Regions from separate parts of the Homo sapiens genome. Here regions 2 and 3 are each linked to region 1. The links are contacts of gene promoters, found by promoter capture Hi-C in blood cells and fetal thymus (Javierre and others, 2016). All regions are on one chromosome and are shown on one strand. Each heading gives the region's core, a stretch centred on a gene start or on the middle of the fragment in contact. The rest is flanking DNA. Distances are from core to core; before and after follow the strand shown.

Region 1 (3,809 bases), core at 638-3,137:
GCTGGAGTGCAGTGGCTCTCTAATCTCAGCTTACTGCAACCTCTGCCTCCCAGGTTTAAGCGATTCTTCTGTCTCAGCCTCCCGAGTAGCTGAGATTACAGGCGTGTGCCACCACGCTCGGCTAATTTTTGTATTTTCAGTAGAGACGGGGTTTCACCATGTTGGCCAGGCTGGTCTAGAACTCCTGACCTCAAGTGATTCACCCACCTTGGCCTCCCAAAGTGCTGGGATTACAAGTGTGAACCACTGCGCCCAGCCCTTACTCCTATTTTGGAGAAAAGGGAACCGAGGCCCAGAGCGGTTACTCAAGTCTGACAGCAGACGGGGAGGAAGGGGGAGAGGGCATGGAGCCAGCCTGGAAGAGCTATGTGGACCAGCACAGAAAAGGGGAGGCTGAGACCAGGGAGAAATTAGGGTTCAGGGGACTGAGGGGTGGGTGGGAGGAGGGACTTAGGACCTCATAGGTTTCATGAGCCTGGGATGGCTTCCTATTTTATGGATGGGGAAACTGAGGCTCAGTGAAGTCAAGCAACTTGCCTAAGGGCTTCTCTTCAGGGGCAGAGCCTAATCTGCTCTTCCTTCCGCACTGAGCCTTACCCGAATGACTCCCAGCCAGGGGAACTGGGGAAGAGGGTGGAGATCTTAGGGTTCCAGGTACAGAAAACGGGGACGCAGATCATAGTCCAGAACATTCTTAGTCCCCAGTCTTTCTCCACATCCCTTCCCTCACCTCTCCTCTCTTCCCAAGGTCCCAACACGGAGTGGGGATGATGCTTGCTTTGGTGCCTCGGGATCCAGGTGAAAGGCATTGTTTAACGACCCCAGGCATTCTTGGGCTGAGAGGGGTCATAAGGCATTTATCAGGACGTCCCAGGATTGGGGGGACGGCATTGGGGGATTCTCAGCAGCTTGGTTGGATGGGTACTGAGAGGGGTGCCAGGGGTTTCCAGGGAACGAGAGCCAGAGGGAAGGTCTGGAGCCGCCGGGAGGCACTATGCTGCCACTCCCTGGGGAGGTGGGAAGGCGGGAAGGCTGCGGGGGATAATTCCGGGGACGCTGGGCTGAGCTAGGACAGCGTGTGTGTGTGTGTGTGGGCGGAGGGGGGGAGCTGCACCTCTTGGGGGGTTCGCAGAGCTGTGCTAGGGGAGCTGCAGGGCCGTCGGAGCGCGCGGGGACGGCGGCGGCGGCGCTACCTGGAGGCGCGGTGGCGGGCAGGTGCCCGAACTGCACGGCGATGCAGAGGTCGTTGTCCAGGGGGAACTTGTGGCAGTGCAGCATCTCAGGCCAGGGGAAGCCGTAGGCCTCCATGAGCGGCGCGCAGCCGGCGCGCACGGCCTCGCACAGCGAGCGGCACGGGTAGATGGGCCGGTCGAGACAGACGGGCGCAAAGAGCGAGCACAGGAAGACCTGCGTATCCGAGTGGCAGCGCTTGGCCAGCAGCGGCAGCCAGCTGCTCGCCTGCTGCTTCACTTCGGCCAGGCTCTCGTGCTCCAGCAGGTTGGGCAGCCGCATGCGCTTGTAGCCCACCGTGTGGCAGAGCGGCAGGTCGGCAGGGATGTCAAGGCACTGCGGCGGCTTGGAGTAGGAGCGGCCGTGCAGCGGCTCGGCCTGCCAGCCATAGTAGTCGTACTCCTCGCAGCGCGCCGGCGCCCAGTGCAGCGCCCCCAGCAGCAGCGCCAGCGCGGCCGTCCGCACGCCCCCCCCCGCCGCCGCCGCCCGCATGGCTGCGCCCTCTCCAGGTGCGCGCCGCGCAGCCCCCCGACGCTCGGTGCCCGGCGGCCCAGGTGTTCCGGCGTGCGCCCCCGGCCCTGACTCTACCCAGCCGCCGCCGCCGCCGCCGCGGAGGTCGCCCAGGTGGGTGGCAGCCTGCGCTGCGGGCGCCCCGACTGATCCTGGCGCCTCCCACCTCGGGGCTCCAGCCCGGGCCTCGCCGTGCGCCCCAGCCAATCTCCGGCCGCCTGGCCCCAGCTCCAAGGCGGGGAGGCAGTGGGGGCGGCCCTCAGCCCCTCCCGCACCCTGCCCGAGCGTCCCGCCCAGCGCCAGGTCTTGCGCCCCTCTCCCGGCTCGGCTCCCCTGCCGCAGCCCTGGCCTCGCCCAGCGTTTCTCCCCAGGGCTCCCTGCCTCCCTGGGCATTTTCCTCGACCCTCGCCTTCTCCATCCTTCCTCCTTATCTCTCTCCGCCACAGCCTCTCCTGTTCCTTTTCTCACTCACTTCACTTGCTTATCTCTCTGCCTTGGCTTTTCTCCCTCTGCTCTGTTTTCTCTTCCCCGACACCTCGGTTCCTCTTCTCCCTGGTGGGAGGCTCGTGCCACCCCACACCCTGGATCTTCTGGTCCTCCTGGCAGGTCTTCATTGAGCTTGGTGCCAGGCCCCATGCTGGCTGCTGGGGAATCAAAGATGGATATGACCCAGAACCCACCTCCAGGGCCAGGATAGTCTAGTGGGGGTGAAGGTAATCATAGCTTCTATTTAGTGAGCTCTTACTACCTGCCAGGGACGGTGCAAGGTGCAAGGTGCGGTGCAAGGTGCGGTGCAAGGTACGTTCCAAGCTTATCAGCTATTGCTAATGATAGCCAATACTTAGTGGGTGCTAATTGTGTGCCAAGTCTGATCTGAGCACATTGCATAAACTCCCTCAGCTAATTCTCACAATAAGGCTAGATGGTGGGTAGGTACTATTATTGTCCCCACCTTACAGATAAAGATCCTGCGGCAGAGAGGTTAAGCACAGATTAGAGCTGGGATTTGAACCCAGATAGTCTTTTTCGAGAGTCAGAGCCCAGAAACAACCAGGAGGCCTGGATTCTGAGTCTGTAGGCCTAATGACCAAGGGGATAGGGAGTTCAGAGAAGTGGAGTAACTGGCCCTTGGCCACACAGCTCATATGTGAAGGAGCTAGGATTTGAATCCAGATGTTGGGCTACAAAGGCCAGGGCTTAACCACTCTGTGGTAAGATAACTTCCAACCCATGGTAGGGAACACAGTGGGAAGAGGGGGAATTGATGGTGTGTCTGAGCAGGGCACCCAGGCAAGCATCAGAGGGGAGGGGACCTTCAGGAGCCCCATGCTTGGTGTCTTTCTCTCCTGTCTGAGTCCTGCCTTTCATTGGCTCTCCCTTGAGAGGAATTTGGACTGGAGGCTTGAAGGGAGGGGAATTCCTTCCTGAGAGCCTAGCCTGACACCTGACCTCCCAGTCTTTGGTGGGGAGGGTACCTTGGGGAGGTGTCTCCTAGGAGGGCGTGGGGAGCTGGGGGCTGGCTCTGCTGGAAGGCAGGAGTACTGGGCACTTTCCCCCTCTGCTCCTCCCCTTAGTCCCACTAATGGATGTTTCCAGGGCTCCTGTCTTCCTCTGGGTCTGTCCTTGCAGTGGTAGTGGAGAGGGGTGAGGGGCCACTCCTTAATATTCACAGAAAATGCATAGAGTACCTACTATCTGCAAGGCATGGGGTAGGGTATGCATGGGGACACAGAGGTGCAAAAGACATGGCTCTGTTCCTTCTGATCTAGTTGTAAGAAAAAGATACAAGGCAGGCAGAGGAGGCAGGAGAAGCCTCATCTCACTGAGCCCCAAGGGTGGGACAAGCCGTGTTTGATGTCCAGGATGACCTAGTGGGGTCCAGGTAGAGTAAACTTTGGCCTTCTTTTCCCCTCTCCCTCTCCCAGCCCCCAGCATGAAGAGGTTATGCAGATGGCCACTCAGAAGGTGAAGGACTGGTCTCTGCAGGGCCAGGCAGTGCAGTGTAGCAATGGTGCGAGAGCCTGGGCTCTGCAGACGATGGAGCCAGGTTCAGATCCTGGCCACATATT
Region 2 (3,809 bases), core at 678-3,177, 240 kb after region 1:
TTTGTACAGTGTAGTTTGGCAGCTGTAGAGTTAGGAAGCCTTGGGGTTCAGATCCCGACTTATCTACTTACTATTTACTTAGCAGAGAGCAAGTTGCTTACTGCCTCTGAACCCCATCTGCCTTTTCTCTCAATGTGGATGACAATACATTTACTTCATAGTGCTGTTGGGGATGAAATAAAATGAGGGATGTGAAATAAGATGATGCATAGTGTCTGGCACATATTAGTGCTCAATGCACAATCTTTTTTTTTTTTTTTTTAGATGGAGTCTTGCTCTGTCGCCCAGGCTGGAGTGCAGTGGTGCCGTCTCGGCTTACTGCAACCTCCGCCTCCTGGGTTCAAGCAATTCTTGTGCCTCAGCCACCTGAGTAGCTGGGATTACATGCGCGCGCCACCATGCCCAGCTAATTTTTGTATTTTTAGTAGAGACGGGGTTTCACCATGTTGGCCAGGCTGGTCTTGAACTCCTGACCTCAAGTGATTCACCCATCTCGGCCTCCTAAAGTGCTGGGATTACAGGCGTGAGCCACTGCACCCGGCCCTCAATGCATAATAATTATCAATGGTGATTGGCAGAAATTTACAATGCACTGTCACACACAATAGCCTAGGAAGGCTTCAAGACAACAAGCCATTACAGTTATTCCCCTTTTTACAGATGATATCTCTGAATGTCAGTGAGTAAGAGACTCAAGGACATAAAACTGGAACGTTTACACCTTAGGGCATGAACTCAGGCTATTTGGATTCCTAGTCTTATGCTTTTTTTGCAACCCAATGTTGGTTTTCAGGAGAGAAAGGAGCCGTGGGCAACAAGGCATGCTCAGCGGAGGTTTAGCTAACCCTCTTAATTTCCATCTTCCCCCCTCTTTGAAACGGTTAATTAATGTTTTCTTAGTCTTATGTAAAGTGCTGTGCAAAGGCAGCTTTGAGCATACCCTTCTACCATAATTGTCACCCTTAAGCCCTTCCTGTATAGAGATCCTAGAGCCCCACTGGTAAAGAAGTAATATCTGCATAATCAAGTTGGCTTAAATATGAAGAGAAGACAGTGCCTTAAAGCAGAGCATTCCAGTTTTCTCCCTGAAAAGCCTGTGGATCAAACACCCTTCTTCCAAACTTCCTTCCATCCTGACCCACTGCAGTAGCAAAAGACAAGGTCACAGCACCCCAGAACCCCAGCTGAGCCCAGCCAAGCTGCAGCTGAGCCACAGACAACCACAGACCTATGAGTGAGAACGTATGTTGTTGCAAGTCACTGGGGTTTGGAGTTGTTACACAGCCTTATTACAGCAAAATCTGATTAATATCTGTCACACTGAGGGTGGGAGGCACTTACCCCGCCACGACGATCTCAAAGTCCCCATCATGGTCCACATCAGTAACTGCCACACCATAGTTGAGCTGGGTGGGATTACTGTCATAGTCAGGAGGCAGAACTGAGTTGGTGACTGCAGTGAACATGGGTTCAGCCCGCTGGGACCCCTCAGTGATGGGCAGAAACCAGAGCAGCAGCAGGAACGGTAACATCCTGGACATCTGAAACCAAAAGTGACAAATGTTACCGAAAGAACCTGTAACCAAAGCAATCCCGGAACATTAAAGTCCTGGGTAGGCCCAGAGTGCCTTTCTCTCCCATTCATGGAGAGCTTGACAGTGCCTAGGCTGCTGGCTTTCCACAAGCCCTGCCCTCCCCTCCCTTGCCCTCCCCACCCTCATTGAAACTGCAACCTGACTCCATCATGGCTGATCGCCCTTAGCCTGCTCTGCTTTTTCTTTTTCTACAGCATCTATCATTGTGTGATGTTTGGTATAATTTACTTATGATTACACTTATTATTTATTGTGTGCCTCCCTCTGCTAGAGTGTAAGCTCCACTTGGGCAAGGATCTCTGTTTTATTCACTGATATGCAGCAAGCCAAAGGTAGTTCACATAATAGGCACTTCTTTCCTTCATTTATTTCATATTTGTGGAAGGAAGGAAAGGAGGGAGGAAGGGAGGGAGATGGGGAGGGAAAGGTATAAATACAAAGGCATTTCCCATACTCTGGGAGAAAGACTGGGCGAATGAAGAACCTAACAGCTCTCAAACAATGCAGAGTTTGGGTGAGACCCTCATGAGTATCCAGATCTAGAACAATAATAGATGCAATGAAAGACTGTTCTCCTGTGGTACATACTCCAGAGGTAGCCAGGGGGAATATGTGACTTGGCAGGTTCCTCATGCCAACATCCCTCCCTAGGGCAGCTGGCCATCACCTCCAGACCAAGAAGCAGTCAGTTAGGGGAGGCGTTCCAGCAGGATCTGGCGGATAGCACATCATTCACTTGGAGAAATTAAACCATTGCGTGCGTGTTTTATTATAAATTAATTATGTATAATGCATTGTATAATTCATTATTATATCTCTAACATAACTCAGGGTGTTGCCAAGTAGCCTGGGGCCATGGGAGCCTGTGGCACACACCCAGGAGACAGATGAAAATGGCCAAGGAGGTGGAGGGATTCCACCCCCCTTGAGTGAAAGCAAGGGAGACACTTGGAACGCTGCAGATGGCACCACCCTGAGACTCTACCTGCAGGCCTAGAATCAGCACTCATGAAATGTTTTAAAGGCTCTGCTGGAAGGAGGTCCACAAAGGCTGCATGGGTCTAGTCCCAGCAGGCAAAGCGGTACTTTCCTGCCTTCAGAAGGTAGCAGACCTCTTCTAGATGGAACTTTTCCTGCTGGCTTGTCAGTGCATCTGGCAGCCAAGGCAAGGCTGACTGAGGCTGATGTCTTAATGAAGGGAAGAGCAAGGAAGATCTGAAGACTGTCTCCCCATATGGAGACAGATGCTCCTGCCGGCAAATGAGCTTGCTGTTCAAGGACCCAGAGACCAAAATGAAGGGGCTGGGCACTGCCTTCAGAGCCAGACGTGATTCAGGAGCCTCCTGAATGCCTTGCTGGAGAGGCTGGGGAGTGACACAGGGGCAAGGCTCCAATTGCAGGGCAGAAACTGGGAAGGAGGTTCTTGTAGTGTGTTCACAGGGCACATGTGGGGTGTGGCACTACCAAACTGAGGTCATTCCAAATTACAGAGATGTCTGAATGAGACAGCATCTTCTACTGGGTTTTCTAATCACTAAAGACAAATGCATCATGAATCACTACAAGAGCTCTGCAACTTGGCAGGAACTTTGATTGGATAAAGGAAACTCATAATTGGATTAATGAGCAGCTGGGTGGGGATGGGGGAGGAAATGGGAAACTAAAGAGTATTTAATAACCAGTGTCGACATGCCGAAATGTAGCATGGATCTGAAGGTCATTGGACTTTTCAAGGGATGACCTCTATTGTAGTGAATGGCAAAGGAGTTTCAATTTGAGGGCCAAATCCAATTGACTGGCAGTGGCTGGAAAGAGTGCTGTGATCAGCTTACAACATCAGCAATGGGCATGGAAGAGAAAAGTGGCATCTAACATGTCTTTTCGAAGCTAGTTAGTTCCTCCCAGGCACCACATCTGCAATTTGGGTCACGGCCACCAGGGAGGCTGGCCCCATTCAGGTAATATGAGCCTAAAAGTTCTAATCATTAGAACCTTTCCAGTGAAGGCCCTAAGAGTCAAGAATTATGATCTAGCCTCTTTAGTTTTACCTTTTCTTTTAATTAAAGAAGACATACGAAAGAAGTAGCTGCTGTGTTATCCGTTTCCAGATAAATAACCTAAAGCAAGATGAGAAAGAAATAATGCACCCATTGGCTGACCTCTATTTTGCTTGGGTGACCTTAAAACAAGTCACAACCTCTTTGGGTCTCAGCT
Region 3 (3,809 bases), core at 969-3,468, 130 kb after region 1:
CCCCGTGGTGTGGGACAGTTGGGGGTTAAACTTCCAGAGCTGCCAGCTGAGTGCCAGTCCCAGATGCAGCCCCTCTCGCTGTCCTCTCTGCTGCGTGCTCAGGACCCAGCCATCTGCCACAGGGACTTGGGGCACAGCCACGTACCTGGGAAGTGGCTTCTGCTGCTGCTGTGTGGAGGCAAACACACTAACCCATTGGGCAGCCACGTGGTGACTTGCTCTGTCCATTGACAGCTCTGGGCCAGCCTGCCTTGTCCTTCCACCCAGCCCTTTCTCCCCGCTGCAGGGGACGCTGGGAGATTTGAAGCAGGCTGGATGGGCAGGATGGGCAGGCAGACAGAGACTAGGTTCTCGGGCCACAGAGACAGGAGCACTAGATTCCTCAGTGCTCAGGCCTCGTCCTCCTGGCGAGTGACACTTTATTAGCCAGAGAAGGAAAGCAGTGTCTCTGTTAACTAGCAATTGATCTTCTGCAATTTATCTGGAAGTTGTGAATAAGCTTTTCGCAAGGCACCTAATTAGTAAATCTAGCGCCTTCAGGGGGTGATTACATCCAGTCAGGATTGATGCTTTGTTAATAATTATATTTTAAAACACGCTTAGTCACACTCATGCCTTTTAGTATAAATAGTTGGGCCCTCCCGGGAGATGGGGTAGGGGTCTTGGGGGGCCGAGCCAGTGATCTGGCCCATGTCCTGGATCCAAGGCCCTGGCACACCCTCCTTTCCCCACCTGGTCCTGAGCCCCATTGGAATGTTTTAAGCCAGGAACAGGGACATCTCAGGCCACATGCCTGTCCAGGACTCCACCTATCCAGGACTCATGGGGAGACCCTGAGCTCAGTTCCCCAACAGTGGTTCTCAAACTTCAGTGTGATGAGAATCACCTGGTGCCTACTGTACTTGTTAAAATACAGATTCCTGGGCCTCACCCCCTGAGATTCTAAGTCAGGGGCTGTGGGGTAGGTCCCGGGATTCTGTACTTTAAGCACTCTGGGTGATTCTGATGCCAATGGTCTCTGGACGTCCCCTTGGAGAAATATTGCCGCAGCAAATCCAGCCCTTCCTCCCTAGACACACTGCTCAGAGGCCTGCACATTCCCTCCATTTCTGAAACCCTTTTCCTTGTCTACCAGGAACCCTTGTCATCCAGAATTTCCCAAAGGATGGTTTGCAGAACACCAGTCTCAACAGAAAAATCTGTGGAAGAAGTGCCCTGTGATCTGGCCTATTTGGAATACTCCATCCATCTTTTGGAAAATTAAAATATTTATGGTCAAGTTAAAGGCGCTGAGAAGTCCTGCAGTAAATAAACCTGTATTTACTTGGACCCCGTAGCCCCTTTCTGTGGTAGTGATTGGACCCCATAGCCCCTTTTCCTGGTAGTGATTGGAGCCCGTAGCCCCTTTTCCTGGTAGTGATTGGACCCCATAGCCTCTTTTCCTGGTAGTGATTGGAGCCCGTAGCCCCTTTTCCTGGTAGTGATTGGACCCCGTAGCCCCTTTTCCTGGTAGTGATTGGAGCCCGTAGCCCCTTTCTGTGGTAGTGATTGGACCCTGTAGCCCCTTTTCCTGGTAGTGATTGGACCCTGTAGCCCCTTTTCCTGGTAGTGATTGGACCCCGTAGCCCCTTTTCCTGGTAGTGATTGGAGCCCGTAGCCCCTTTTCCTGGTAGTGATTGGACCCCGTAGCCCCTTTTCCTGGTAGTGATTGGACCCTGTAGCCCCTTTTCCTGGTAGTGATTGGACCCCGTAGCCCCTTTTCCTGGTAGTGATTGGAGCCCGTAGCCCCTTTCTGTGGTAGTGATTGGACCCTGTAGCCCCTTTTCCTGGTAGTGATTGGAGCCCGTAGCCCCTTTTCCTGGTAGTGATTGGACCCTGTAGCCCCTTTTCCTGGTAGTGATTGGAGCCCGTAGCCCCTTTTCCTGGTAGTGATTGGACCCCGTAGCCCCTTTTCCTGGTAGTGATTGGACCCCGTAGCCCCTTTTCCTGGTAGTGATTGGACCCCGTAGCCCCTTTTCCTGGTAGTGATTGGACCCCGTAGCCCCTTTTCCTGGTAGTGATTGGACCCTGTAGCCCCTTTTTGTGGTAGTGTGGCTTTGTATCTTGTGGCGCTTGGGTTCTGGGCACACTTTGGGCCACATTTCCCTTCCCTTTCCCTGCAATAGCAGAGGCCGGCTCCTTGGCCAGGCTTTGCCCTGCATTCCCACAGCCTCTTGCCCAGTCCTCGTCCTTCCTTCCTTTCTGTTTCTTCATCAGGGGACCTGTGTTGACCTTGGCCTGACCCCCTGGCCCTGGGAACCCTCCCCTTCTGATTCTTAAACCTTCTCCCTGACCGTTCCTCCCACCAGCTGTCAAGGATGAAGAGCCACGAGCCAGGATGGAGCATCTACCGGAAGAGGCGGTTGGCTGAGGAGCTGCGGTAGGCAATGTTGTTGAAGAAGATCTCCAGCTCCTGGTCATTGTCAAAGTCGGCGGTGATGACCGTGCGGACAGGGGAGGGCATGGAGAACTTGGGTGAGGCGATGTCCTGGAGGAAACAAGGCTGGGGGTCAGTGGCAGGAGAGTGGGCTGGGGCGGGAGGCCAGCTCTCCTCTATGGAGTGTGGGGGCAATTAAAAATAAGAGACAGTCCAACCCAAAAGCTCCTCTCCTGCCTCCCGCAAAGGACCTGGGGGCTGCCTTTAGGACCACACAGACCTCAGGCTGCTTGTACGAGAAGAAGGAGGGAAGAATAACAGTCGTGCTAGACACCAGTGAAGTGCTTAGCCGATCCCTAGTCTGGATCACACCTGTCCATCCCTTCTGTCCATCCCTTGAGGCAGTACAGACATTAGCCTTCCCATTTGACGGGTGAGGTAACTGAGTCCTGGAGAAGGAGGGGAACTGCGATGTCACAGCTACTGAGTGGGGAGGCCAGGGCTTCTGATTCCGGACTCTGTGCCCTTTCTCCTAGGCACCCTTCCTCCTCTGTGCTGAGTCAGAAGCTGGGTGGGCACCGGAAATCTCTGTGCATCTAAATCCAGGCTCCACCACTGACTAGCTGTGTGATCTTAGGCAAGTTACTAACCCCCTTGGATCTCACCTTCCCCATCAGTAATGTGGGAATAGTAATAGCTGCCTGGGTTGTGAGGATTGCATGTAAAATGCCTGGCACAGAGTGGGCATGACATAGCTCGCTGGCAGCCTGTCCTGCCTTACCCACCACCTGCCTCAGGGAAGGTGAAAGAGGTTACCTGTAGCTGTGGATTTGGCTGCCTCTACTACCTTACGTTGTTTCTTGGGAGTCTTTTTATTTTTATTTTTTGAGACATTTGCTTTGAGGGGGTTGCGGTATCAGCTACACCTGTCCAGGACTAATGGGGAGACCCCAGGCCCAGGATAGCCCAGCTGGGACTCCAAAGTACTGGGAGGGCCTTGGGGGACCAGGCAAAGGGTCCCAGGTGTGTTTCTGCCTCTGAAATAGAAGGAGAGCTGGGAAGGGCAATCTTCTATTTCTGAGCGTAATATCCTCATCATAGGTGGGTTTTTCCCCTAAAGACCTTGGGGACATGTCTAAGTCCCAGGGCCCACGTGGAGAGGGCTGAGAAAGGTACAGGTGGTGTCTCTGGGAGCATCCTCTACCCGACTTGGGCCTGCTCTCGGCCTCCTGCTGCAGACCCTCTTTGGCAGCCACAGGGATGAGCAGGCTGGGTCAGCGGTCGAGCTGCCTGCTCTGGGGAGGCCAGGGAAAGAGGCTGTCTCCATCAGAGGAGTAATGAGGTTGAATAAGCCTGGCCAGCTGGTCTGGGTGGGTTGAGCTGGGCCTTAAGA

What was found. The method cuts DNA at HindIII sites, captures the fragments that hold promoters and counts their contacts. A CHiCAGO score of 5 or more calls a contact.
Region 2: a fragment that was not itself captured here is called in contact with the fragment with the promoter of SFRP5 in region 1 in 1 of 17 cell types (M1 macrophages); the score reaches 5.5 in M1 macrophages.
Region 3: a contact is called between a fragment that was not itself captured here and the fragment with the promoter of SFRP5 in region 1, in 2 of 17 cell types (M1 macrophages and M2 macrophages). The highest score is 5.3, in M1 macrophages.

Annotation. Positions count from the first base shown.
Region 1 is chr10:97,770,112-97,773,920 of GRCh38, forward strand. It overlaps SFRP5 (secreted frizzled related protein 5), which reads right to left and starts at 1,888. Exons shown (of 3, transcript NM_003015.3): 1 at 1,194-1,888. The coding sequence starts at 1,722. The HindIII fragment of the contact is 8,141 bases long and covers 1-2,548 here.
Region 2 is chr10:98,009,797-98,013,605 of GRCh38, forward strand. CRTAC1 (cartilage acidic protein 1) reads right to left here. Exons shown (of 15, transcript NM_018058.7): 2 at 1,342-1,541. Among named protein-coding and RNA genes, the nearest start is that of CRTAC1, 19 kb to the right of the region's middle. The HindIII fragment of the contact is 4,154 bases long and covers 1-3,809 here.
Region 3 is chr10:97,899,113-97,902,921 of GRCh38, forward strand. It overlaps CRTAC1 (cartilage acidic protein 1), which reads right to left. Exons shown (of 15, transcript NM_018058.7): 8 at 2,391-2,527. Among named protein-coding and RNA genes, the nearest start is that of MIR3085, 25 kb to the left of the region's middle. The HindIII fragment of the contact is 3,442 bases long and covers 498-3,809 here.